4 separate regions of the Homo sapiens genome follow, and all the other regions are linked to region 4. Evidence: promoter capture Hi-C in 16 types of primary human blood cells and fetal thymus (Javierre and others, 2016). All regions are on one chromosome and are shown on one strand. The core of a region is centred on a gene start or on the middle of the fragment in contact, and the rest is flanking DNA. Distances in the headings are between cores, read along the strand shown. Region 1 overlaps BFSP1 (beaded filament structural protein 1). Region 2 overlaps BFSP1 (beaded filament structural protein 1). Region 3 has its middle 18 kb from the start of DSTN. Region 4 holds the start of PET117 (PET117 cytochrome c oxidase chaperone).

Region 1 (2,700 bases), core at 29-2,528, 610 kb before region 4:
GCACCCACACTGTGGAGAAAACCAAGCTGGTGTCTGTCACATCAAGTGCTCTGTAGTAATAACAGTGATCAGGGATTCAGCACCACCAGGTGATGGGCAAGTCATATACATTATTACATCATTTAGTTCTCACTAGGCACTTTCACTCCTATGGTGGGTGGGGAGTATTGTGATTCCATTTCACAGATGAAAAAACCGAGGCTCAGAGGGACAAGGCAATTGGCCCACAGTCTCACAGATGCTCAGCTGTAGCAGGAGGTTCCTAGTCACAGGCTACACTCCTCGCTGGGGCTCTGCAGCTCACCTGCGGGCAGTACTGTCTTACTTGGACCCAGGGGCCAGTCATGCTAATTGCCTGTGCTGGTCTCACCCACATTCTTGGTAGCATCTTTCCCCAGAACCTTCATAATATTCTTACAGGGCTGATACTTCAAATGTCCACACTCTATGTCACAATATACATGAAGGTGTATTATGCGATGCCTTTTCCTTATTTTTCGTTATCTATGTTGCCTTATTTTTTCTACTGAGAATATGGATTGCTTTTGTAAAAAGAGAAAAACAACAGAAAGTTTAAGCTTGTTTTTTAAATTCACTGTCATTTTCCATCAAGGGTAAAAGAGGAACCCCATTCTTTCTCCCCTTTATTTGAAGAGTACCCAGGATGGCACTGCGTGAGTGACAAGTGAGGACAGATGCTCACAAAGCAACATGTGGAAGTGTTGGGGAGAGGGCCTCGGAGGGCCTGAGGGGTGCTGTGAAGGGTGCTGGGTCCCCGTGTCTGAAGGCCATGTTCTGGCAGTCTGAGGTTGCACAAAACAGAAGAATGGGGATGAGCTACAGGTGTCAGCAGAATAGCAGAGTGATGTCAGACACTAATAAGGCCCAACTCCCAGCTCAGATGTCCAACAGGCTCGAGGCCATCGTTTTCCAAGCCAACTATTGAGCGTGTGTCCTCAGGGCCTTCCTGAAGTGCATTCTCACTGCCATCTCTGTGTTTCTATCTAGGGTGCCCAAGTGTCCTACTAGCTGTCCTGAGAGTCCCAGCCTGCATTGACTGACCTGTGTTATTACAAACTGCACCCTCTTTTGCACACTGTCCTGGTTTGAACATATCATACGTGCTCACGCGCAGAGGGGCAGGTAACATAGACAAAGCAAAATTGGGTTTCCCCTAGATTCTAGTTCTGATTTTCCCCTCAACCAGCAGAGTAATCCTAGACAGCAAAGGCTGGACAAAGTGAAGGGATGGCAAACATCCGGCGCTAACCCTGACTGTCCAAAGAGGCTGCTTGGAGTTCCATGTGGCAAAGAAGCCTAAAGCATACCTGGGCATGGCAGGGAAGAGTCTGCGGTTTTGTCAGCAATTTTGATGAGTTGTAGGCATGGAAGGGGCGGGGAAGGGCAGCCCATGTGCCCTAATCAAGCAGCCTTTCCACTAAATAGTCTCCATGGGTCGTTCTGCTCTGACATTGGAGCTCAAAAACGATCAGAAAAGGGCCATGCTTAAAGCTATGTGCCATCCCTGGTTCTGTACAACCCTGGTGGTCCAGAATCATTCTGCTTTTTGGTGGTGGGATTCTCCCAGCAAAAGCAGAAAATCCAATCAGTTAGTTAGAATCATGATGAAGAATCCCAAGAAGGAAATCACCACTGTTCTGTAAAGAGCAACTCCACATAACCCTGCAGGAAAGTCAAGTGGCTAAGAACCCCTGGCATCTCCCCTGGGGCTATTGGTCACGCTATAAGAGGGAACTCTAGAGGAAATAGAAATTTCTTCCTCTGTTATCTTGAGACTTCTGTGGAGCCGCAATCTCAAAACTCTTAGCCAATAGGACAGAGGTATCACTGTGTCCAAATAACCACTGCCCAAAGCAAGGTCCTTCCTAAATTTGGTGTTGGGCATCAGTATGTCTGACAAGTAAAACAGCAGCTTGTCACTGTAACGCCGGCAGGTTTTGCTAGCCTAGCATAACCAACAAGCTTCATAGTCTGTGTTTCTCTCGTGAGAGAGGGGTGTGTGTATGGGTGTGTGAGTTCACTCATAAAGACTCAATTGAAATTAACAAGTCAAGAGACAGAGTGACTGCAAAAGAAGTAGTGACCGCCAAAGTAACACAAAGAGGAAGCCTGTAAAACCTGCACTTCCACCATTCCATTCAACACTGTAATTAAGCTACGTAAACCCAAGGATGTGTTCCGCTCACCTTGTTAAGCCGTTCAAGCATTTCTTTTAGCAGGAGTTGACATTCGCACTCATTTTCATACCTGCAAATTGGACACATAAGTGAGAGTTGGGTAACTACCATGCTTTCACATGTATGGATCACATAATCAGCATTAAATTCAACCTGGGTACGATGCCCTCTCCTTTAAGGAGAGGGTCTTAATTTTAAAGTAGTAGCTAACGAATGCTGCATTTCCTAGCTGACTGCCTCCCAATCAGAAAGTGGTACCATTTGCACACCGCGTGGGGTAACCAGGGGCAGTTAGCGGAATAGGAGTCTCCCAGCCCGAAGGCACCAACCCCAGCCCCTACAGCCTTATTCCCAGCCACCCCAAGGATGAGGGAATTATATCCTAGCCTATCTATAACCCAAGTGCAGCAGTGGCAGAGATGGGAGACTGCCCTGCACAATCTACACCACCATTAACCTGACCGTACTTGGATTTCCTATAGTATTTTATTTGCTGACACAT
Region 2 (2,897 bases), core at 47-2,546, 630 kb before region 4:
TAGCTTAGCTGCTACATTGGGAAGCCACTAAAACCTTTAAAACCAGCAAAAACCCAGCCACAAACATTTGAAATGAGGCCCAAGCCTGGGACACAGGGGGACCAGGTGGAACATTCGCCCACTCCCTGGGACCCGCCCTTACCCTGTGGTTCTCAGTGTGGCTCCTGGACCAGCCGCAGCACCATCACAGGGACACCTAGACATGCAGCATCCCGGGCCACACCCCAGACCCACTGAGTCAGGAGCTCCCGGGCGCACCCAGCCACGTCTGGGTTTTCATCAGAGCTAAGGAGGCAGAATTTTGGCCCCCGTGACCTTTTCCCCTTGGTGCTACACCCTTGAATATGTTACATGGCAAAAAGGGACTTTGCAGATATAATTAAAGTTCTTAATCAGTTACCCTTTTTTAAGGAAAGGAGTTTATTCAAGATTATCCCCTAAAAACAGAAGTCAGAGAAACGTGTAAGTCCAAGTCATTGAGATGAGACGCAGGAAGAGGGTTCAGAGTTCGCTGCCGGCTCCGAACGTGGAGGGGCCTGAAGCCAAGGAGCCTGGGCAGCCCTGACAGCCACTCCTGGCCAGCAGCCGGCAAAGAAACAGGGTCCTCACTCCTGCCAAGAACTTGAATGAGACTGGAAGCAAATTCTCCCCTAACAGCCTCTGGACAAGGGCCCAGGCTGGCCAACATCTTTCTTTCTACCTTTTGAGACCCAGAGCAGAGAAACCGATAGGACCCACCCAGACTTCCCACCTACACAACTGCGATGACACGGGTGCTGGTGGTGACTCATCAAGGCAGCAACAGAAAATGGACACAGCCGTGTTTCATCAGCTACATGCTATAGCTTGTTACTGAGTGAGTATAAGCACATCTGTCATTTTATTTAAAATGATTCAGTAATATTTTGATAACTGTTTTAATATAATTAGTTTCTTTTTTTTTTTTTTTGGAAACGGGGTCTCATTCTGTTGCCCAGGCTGGAGTGCAGTGGCTCAGTCTCAGCTCACTGCAGCCTCAACCTCTCCAGGCTCAGGCAGTCCTCCCATGTCAGCTTCCTAAGTAGCTGGAACCACAGGCACGCACCACCACGCCCAGCTAATTTTTGTATTTTTTGTAGAGGTGGGGTTTCGTCATGTGGCCCAGGCTGGTCTCAAATTCCTGGACTCGAGCAGTCCACTCACCTTGCCCTCCCAAAGTGCTGGCATTACAGGCGTGAGCCACCACACCCAGCCTGGTTTCCTTTAAATTATCTGTATTTTATTTTATGCCTTTACCATCATTTTTCTGAGAAGCGGTCTCCATCAGAATGCCACGGGTGGGAGTGGAGGAGGCAGCACAGAAGAGATGTTTGAGACCCTGCTTTAGAGACGAGGGCAGCAGGGAAAAGCCAGGAAGTCCTCCTGCAGCCACTCAGGACAGAAACAGGCGGCCAACCAGCGGTTTCATTTCATGTTCTCAGAAACCAGGTTAATCTGTTGTGAAATTTCTTATTTTGATATTCAACAAATACCTGTACATAAAGAGAGGAACATTCTTTTTGTCCTGGAACTGGAATTTGCCATCTAGGCTGGGCTCCTTCATCTTTCTCAGTATCTCTAGGGCAGTGGTTTTCAACTTTATCACCACCGCCCCAGGAAAAACCACATTTCTCATTGCGAGCCATACACATCAGATAGGTAGGTGTGTGTGTGTGTGTGTGTGTGTGTGTGTGTGTATTTCAACATATCCATATGGATATAGAGAGATAAAACAAGGGCTTCACAAAACAAATCCTCCCTTTCACTTGCTGTACACTCTGTTTTTCTTATTATATTTTAGTCTAGCATTTTGTTGACTTCCTTTTACATGCCAGTCAATTCTACTGAGTTCATTTTACATCCAAAAATGAGTTGTCACTAGCCATTTGGAAAACACTGGTCTCTAGGACCACGACTGGGCTTGTATCCACGTCCCTATTCACATACACAGCACACACACATACACATGACACACACACACCACACACACTTCACATACACATCCCACATATATCACACATACCATGTATATCACACACACACACCCCATGTACACAAACACATACAACCCTTATTCTATCCTGTCAGAGCCTCAGAAGAAACCACACAGGCCCCAGTCACCAGGATGAGGCACATGGTCCCTGAGCCAGGGTTTGTCTCACAAGAAGGAGGAGTTTTAAGTGCCTTACTTGGTTCCTCCTGCTGCGATCGTCAGTTCAGGGGACCACCACAGACCCGGGTTTGCTTTCCAGCAGCCCCTGAGAGCTGCTGCACTGTGAGTTTTGTGTGGTGCGTGCTGGGATGGGAATTAGGATGTGAACTCCAAGGTCCCAAAATGAAATCCTGAGCAGACATGGGGGCACTGGAAATCAATAAAAAGCGCTACATCTAGTTGTGGCTTCACATTTTTAGACAGAGTAACACATAACATCCAAATGGTCCAGGCTTTCTGAAGTGTCCGATTTTTACACGTTTTGCTCTCTTGTCCCCATGTGTACTTGTCAAACCAAATGTCAACTTACTTTTTGGTTTGGGAAATGTGGTTAGAGAGCCATACAAAGGTGCAGTATTTTAACCCAAGCGTCCCTGTGGAATGACCTGCTGTAGGGTAATGAGAAAGAGAGAGAACCGGAAGGAACAAAGAAGATGAGCCGGCAAGTAGCCAAGAAGGCACAGGCCACAGGACAGTTTGGGGCTTTTCTGTTTTGTTTTCAAATTAAGCTTCACCCAAAAGGGGTGGGGGTAGAAATGTGAGCTTTCCACCAACACGTTTCTAACTAGAAGCAAACACTGATACAACCACTCTTGCCGGGTTGTAATCAAATTCCGAAGGAGAACTGTTACCATGAGAAGGAAAACAGAAGCACAGATTTGAACAA
Region 3 (2,978 bases), core at 188-2,687, 590 kb before region 4:
GCATGTATTATTATGCAATACCAGGACATCTGGACATTTTTTTCTGTCATAGTTTATCCTTGCAGGCATTGTTAAGCTGTTTCCTCAGCTGTAAACATCATATAACCACAGGTCATGATAGACAAGAAATGTGCCTTGCCAGTTTTACGATGGAGTTGATTTTAAAATGGTGCCACTCTGGCTCTCCTATGCTCCTGCTTCCCTAACATGATGACATGCAGTCCAGAGGTAGGCAGTTCAGGGCGAGTGTGGTGGAGCCTTCAGTCCCAGGTTCATTCCAACTCTTCACTCTGCTGGCTTTAGTATGTGGCTTAGTGCCTGTATTAGGCCATACTTGCATTGCTATAAATACCTTAGACTGGGTAATTTATAAAGAAAAGAAGTTTAGTTGGCTCACGGTTCTGCAGGCTGTACAGGAAGCATGGCACCAGCATCTGCTCGGCTTCTGAGGAGGCCTCAGGGAGTTTTTACTCATGGTAGAAGGCAAAGGGGGAGCTGTCTGGTCACACAGTGAGAGTGGGAGGAAGGCAGAGAGGTGCCACACACTTTTAAATGACCAGATCTCTCAAGAGTTCACTCACTGTCACAAAGACAGCACCAGGGAGAAGGCGCTAAGCCGTTTATGAGTGATCCACACCCACGATCCAATCACCTCCCACCAGGCCCCTCTTCTAACATTGGGGATTACAATTCAACTTGAAATTTAGAGGTGACAACATCCAAACTATATCAGTGCTCAAGCTCACAGATGGCTGCTACCCTTAGGTATCACATCTGTACCTGAAATCACTTGTACATCTACACCACCAATCTTATTCATGTATTTATTCAACAAATATGTATTGACAACCTACCCTGTGCCAACACTCTTCTGGGCCTTGGGATACAGAAGTGAAAAAAATAAAATAAGGCTGGGTGTGACGGCTCACACCTGTAATCCCAGCACTTTGAGAGGCAGAGGCGGGTGGATCACCTGAGGTCAGGAGTTCAAGACCAGCCTGACCAACATGGTGAAACCTCGTCTCTACTAAAAATACAAAAACATTAGCTGGGCATGGTGGCGGGCACCTGTAATCCCAGCTATTCAGGAGGCTGAGGCAGGAGAATTGTTTGAACCCAGGAGGCAGAGGTTGCAGTGAGCCGAGATCACACCATTGCACTCCAGCCTAGGCGACAACAGCAAGACTCTCTCTCAAAAAGAAAAAAAAAGAAGAAAATAAAAATCCCTGATCCCTGTTCTTGTGGAGCTTATATTCAATTGGAGAAAACAGAAAGTAAATAAGATAAATAAGTGAAAAATAGAGTATAATAAGTGGTGATAAGTGTTACAGAGAAAAATAAAGAAAAGGGAACTGGGAGGATGGTGGGGCATCTGGTAATTTTAGACAGGGTGGTCAGAGAAGACCTCACTGAGGAGGTTACATCTGAGTAGAGAACGGAAGGAAGTGATGGGAAAGCCATTTGGATTCTTGAAGAAAGAGCGTTCTAAACATGGGGAAGAATAAATATAATAGGATGTGCCTGGTTTGTTCAAGGAAGGGTGCAGAGGCCATCATGGCAAGAGTGGGGCAGGTGAGGATAGAGTGCGGGTCAGATGAGGTCAGGAAGGGCAACGAGAGGACAGATCCCACGGGATTTCTACAAATCCTCCATAAGGATTTGGCTTCACTGTGAGAGTAAAGGGAAGCCTTTGATAATTTTGGCAAGGAAGTGGCATAAACTGACCTACAACTTAACAGCATGGCTTTCATGGCTGTGCTGAGAATAGCAGAAGCAGAGAGACCAGCCAAGAGACCATTGCAGTAATCCAGTTTAGAGGTGATGGTGAGTTAGACCAGGGTGATAGCAATGGAGGTAATGAGGAGTGATAGAATTCTATATATATTTTGAGGGTAGAACCAACAGAATGTACTGATGTGGGATGTGAAAGAGAAGAGACAAGGATAAAATCTGAAGCTGGAAGGATGAAATTGACATTTACAAGATGGGGAAGACTGGAAGTGAAGCAGATTTGGGGGAAAAATATCAAGATTTCTGTTTTAATTATGAGAAGTTGAGATGTCTATGAAACATCCAAGGGCAAGTGTTGAATAGACAGTTGCATCTACAAGTCAGAAATCTGGAGAGAGGTCAAGGACAGACATAAATTTGGGAACCAACAGCAGAGAGAAGATATTTAAAGTCATGAAACTGAATCAGAAAACTAAGGGAATTAGTGCAGAGAGTAAAGAGAAGAAGTCTAAGAACTTAGTATGCATGGGGACTCTGGAGATCAGCGGTTAGGAGATGAAGAGGAACCAGCAAAGGAGCCTGAAAAGGACCAGATAGGTAGGTGGAAAATCAGGAAGAGTGTGTGGGATTCCGGAAGCCAAGTAAGTAAAGTGTTTCAAAGTGAAGAGAAGATATGACTGACTATGTTGTATGAGATGAGGACTAAGAATTGGCCATTGGATTTAGCAATGTGACGTTCCATGGTCATATGAGTAAAAGCAGTTTCAGGAAAGTGGTGGGGAAGAAACTATGAGGATGAAATGCCAAACTCAACAAGAACAACTAAAATCCATGGAATAAAATTCACAGGGTAGACAAAAAAACAAAAACAAAAATCCTCAATGAAAGAACAATTACTTCAATCAACAACTTCAACAAATATTTAGTGTTTATCATCTATGTGCCAAGTGACATTCGAAAAATTCATTGGCAATTCAGTGATGAAGAAAACAAAGTACCTATACTTATGGAGCAGATATTCTATTAGGGTTAAAGAGACAGTAAACAACTAAACAAATATACAGTGTGTCAGTTGCTGATAAGTGCTTCAAAAATCATACAGAACAGAAAGAGGATAGACAGTGGAGGCAAGTGGGGTGGCAAACTACTTTAGATAAGGTGATCATCAAGGCCTTTCGGATTTATTAGTAGAGAGCTCATCTTATACCAGTTAGAATTGGGATCTTTGAAAAGACCTGTTAAAAATA
Region 4 (2,700 bases), core at 120-2,619:
ATTGATCTAATTCCCTGATGTACACTCTAAGGACATACAGCTCTGTTGAAGGCTCACTGATTTACAGGGGAAAATATCTAGGATATACCACGAATAAAAAGAAGTCTAATATAATTTTTAAAGAGAAATATGCAAATACACCCTGAACTGAATTTCTTCTCAAAGTTCATTACAGCAAGAACTCCATTTTCCAATTCAGTGGTACATTCTCTCTAGGCTGCAAAAAATGCTGTGGACAAAATGACATTTGGAAAAGGTATCTTTAAAGATACCTTTAAGAGCAATAGTCCCCTTATGCCATTTACGCTCACATAAGAGACTGGAATAGCAAAGCACTATGAACAGTAATGAATGTTGTAAAACTCCCTGGTGAGGCTTAATCAATACTGCCTATAGCCGTGTCCACCGGAAGAAGCTCGTTCTCTGTGAATTCTAGTGGGAAAGAATGATTGAATGATGAACACGTTTTCACTGGTTGCTCTATCAGATACTTAAAAGTTTCTGGGAGGCCTTGCCTTTTTTACCCGAGGAAGAAGTGAAAATGCGTCTTGCACAATTGCTTAACTATTCCCAACGCAAGACTTCTTTATATCATTTATTTCCCTTGTATTACTGGCGCGGAAACTTGGGTGTAAAAGTGATCACAAAGATTACATGGGGCCAGGCGCGGTGGCTCACGCCTGTAATCCTCTCGGGAGGCTGAGGCAGGAGAATCGCTTGAATCCGGTAAGGTTGCAGTGAGCCGAGATCGCGCCACTGCACTCCAGCCTGGGCGATAGACAGAGACTCTGTATCAAAATTATAATAATAATAATAATAATAATCCGAGCCTGACCAGTCGCCCCACAGCGTCAAGGTGAAACCAGGTGACCGCGACTACAGCGTTTAATAATGGGTCCTCAGGCAAAAACTCCACGGATGGGAACCCCGCGCCTCTGAAGCTGCCTAACGAGGCGGTCTCCTGGTGGCGCCTGCCCCGCCAAAGGAGCAATGAGGGGGCTGCGTTTAGGCGAAGCCGGTATTGGGCGAAGCTTCTGGATCAGTCAGGGGCTCAGAAGGGACGTCTGTGGGAGAGGGGTCAGCACGGTATCCAGACCCCGCCCGGGGTGAGGTTGGTACTGAACTGACTGAGGGGCATGGAACCCCCACCCTCCACCCTGGTAAGGTGCCGGGGCCAGTTTGGGCCGGGACTCCTAGAATTTGAATCGGGGGTGGTCTAACGCTGTCGCCTGCGGGGTGTGCAGGAGGCCCCTAGTGAAGCCAAGAGTTCGTAGAGCCTGGGCGCCGCTCTATGCTCGGCTCTCGATTGCTCACGCCTGGCAGCGGCGAGCGGCGCACGCGACGGCTGGGGCTCTGCGCTCGAGGGGTCGAGCCTGGGCAGTACAGGCGGCGGTGCGCACTCTGCGGCGGCCTCTGCGCCTCGGGCGGGCGGGAGAGAGAGGCCGCGGCCGCCAGCGTGGGGATGTCTAGGAGCTCGAAGGTGGTGCTGGGCCTCTCGGTGCTGCTGACGGCGGCCACAGTGGCCGGCGTACATGTGAAGCAGCAGTGGGACCAGCAGGTCGGTGTCACGTGACCGTCTCTTCCGGGCCCGCGCGCGCGGCGTCGACCTGGGGCCTCTCGTGGTCTCTGCCCGCTCGGTTCCTCAGCTCCTCTTCGTGTCTTTCCCCCGCGGTGGCGCGGCCCTGCACCCCACGCGTTTGCGGCTGCGGCCGGCGGCCGCTCTGCTGGGCTCCGGGCGCTGCAGCTCCCGGCGGGCGTGTGCAGCCCGCAGATTCAGGACGACCCGGCTGCCCGGCTTAGCGCCTTTGGAGCTCCGCGCTGAAGGGGCCTTGCTCCGCACAGGCACGGCACGCAAGCTTTTGGGGTGCCCAGTGGCTCTGTTTTCAAGTCACAGCCGGCCCGCAGGGTGCGGACCTTTCCACATCTCACTTGGGCCGCTAGAAAATAGAAGGTGGGGAAGGAGTTTCTTGGGGTGCATTCTGCAAGCTACCAGCCTCCCTCCTGGCCCAAGGTTGGGGTTAAAGCCTAATGTGTTTTACGTGCTATTGATTTTATCCCATGGTAAGGGAGCCCCCCTTCCCCGTACTCACTCTCCATGCCTTTGACCAAGATAATTTGGTGAGATGTTTGCACTTCTCGTTTAAATGAACAGTTTGCTATGGAAACTAGAATCTGGGAACGATAGAGATAACAGTCTCCAGATTTTTTTTTTTGGTACTTTTATTTCAGGAAATATCCGTGACCTGCTGATCAGCAGTGACTATTCTGTCCTCTCAGTTCATATTTTCTTTCTTATTCAAGTTGACAGACCTTTAATGGGTGATTACTGTGTGGAAGCTACCTCACTAAGCACCTTGGGAATACAAAGATAAGGAAACTCCACTCTTCCAGAGTCTATCAGTGATTCACGACCTTGCTGAGAACAGGGTCATTGGTGAATTTTCAGAAAACAACTTGGCAGTGATTGGGGTTGAACCTAGTTCACCAAGGGTGAAAATAATGGACTGGATGAATCAAGAGTAAACAGTCTTTTCTTGATTTGCCTACCCAGACCTTTGGACTGTGCTATGTGCTTGATATACAGAGATGAAGTGGATGAGGTCTTTGTTCTTGGTGTTCACAGACTGTGGAAATTAGAAGAGAGGAAGCATGTGATGGTACAAGAATTTTGACGAGGGGTTGAGATGACTTAACAATGAA

What was found. Contacts are between HindIII fragments. The CHiCAGO score rates a contact against its expected background, and 5 or more counts as called.
Region 1: a fragment that was not itself captured here is called in contact with the fragment with the promoter of PET117 in region 4 in 1 of 17 cell types (total B cells); the score reaches 5.7 in total B cells.
Region 2: a contact is called between a fragment that was not itself captured here and the fragment with the promoter of PET117 in region 4, in 7 of 17 cell types (activated CD4 T cells, total B cells, monocytes and 4 more). The highest score is 9.6, in activated CD4 T cells.
Region 3: a fragment that was not itself captured here is called in contact with the fragment with the promoter of PET117 in region 4 in 1 of 17 cell types (activated CD4 T cells); the score reaches 6.3 in activated CD4 T cells.

The regions. Positions count from the first base shown.
Region 1 is chr20:17,522,641-17,525,340 of GRCh38, forward strand. BFSP1 (beaded filament structural protein 1) reads right to left here. Exons shown (of 8, transcript NM_001195.5): 2 at 2,208-2,268. Among named protein-coding and RNA genes, the nearest start is that of BFSP1, 7.4 kb to the right of the region's middle. The HindIII fragment of the contact is 1,405 bases long and covers 577-1,981 here.
Region 2 is chr20:17,505,592-17,508,488 of GRCh38, forward strand. The region is part of intron 5 of BFSP1 (beaded filament structural protein 1); the gene reads right to left. Among named protein-coding and RNA genes, the nearest start is that of BFSP1, 24 kb to the right of the region's middle. The HindIII fragment of the contact is 2,881 bases long and covers 1-2,737 here.
Region 3 is chr20:17,550,792-17,553,769 of GRCh38, forward strand. It overlaps a transcript of BFSP1 not described here. Among named protein-coding and RNA genes, the nearest start is that of DSTN, 18 kb to the right of the region's middle. The HindIII fragment of the contact is 3,996 bases long and covers 1-2,978 here.
Region 4 is chr20:18,136,494-18,139,193 of GRCh38, forward strand. PET117 (PET117 cytochrome c oxidase chaperone) reads left to right here and starts at 1,370. Exons shown (of 2, transcript NM_001164811.2): 1 at 1,370-1,558. The coding sequence starts at 1,463. KAT14 (lysine acetyltransferase 14) reads left to right here and starts at 1,370. Exons shown (of 11, transcript NM_001392073.1): 1 at 1,370-1,558. RefSeq lists a silencer at 1,739-1,858. The HindIII fragment of the contact is 825 bases long and covers 1,030-1,854 here.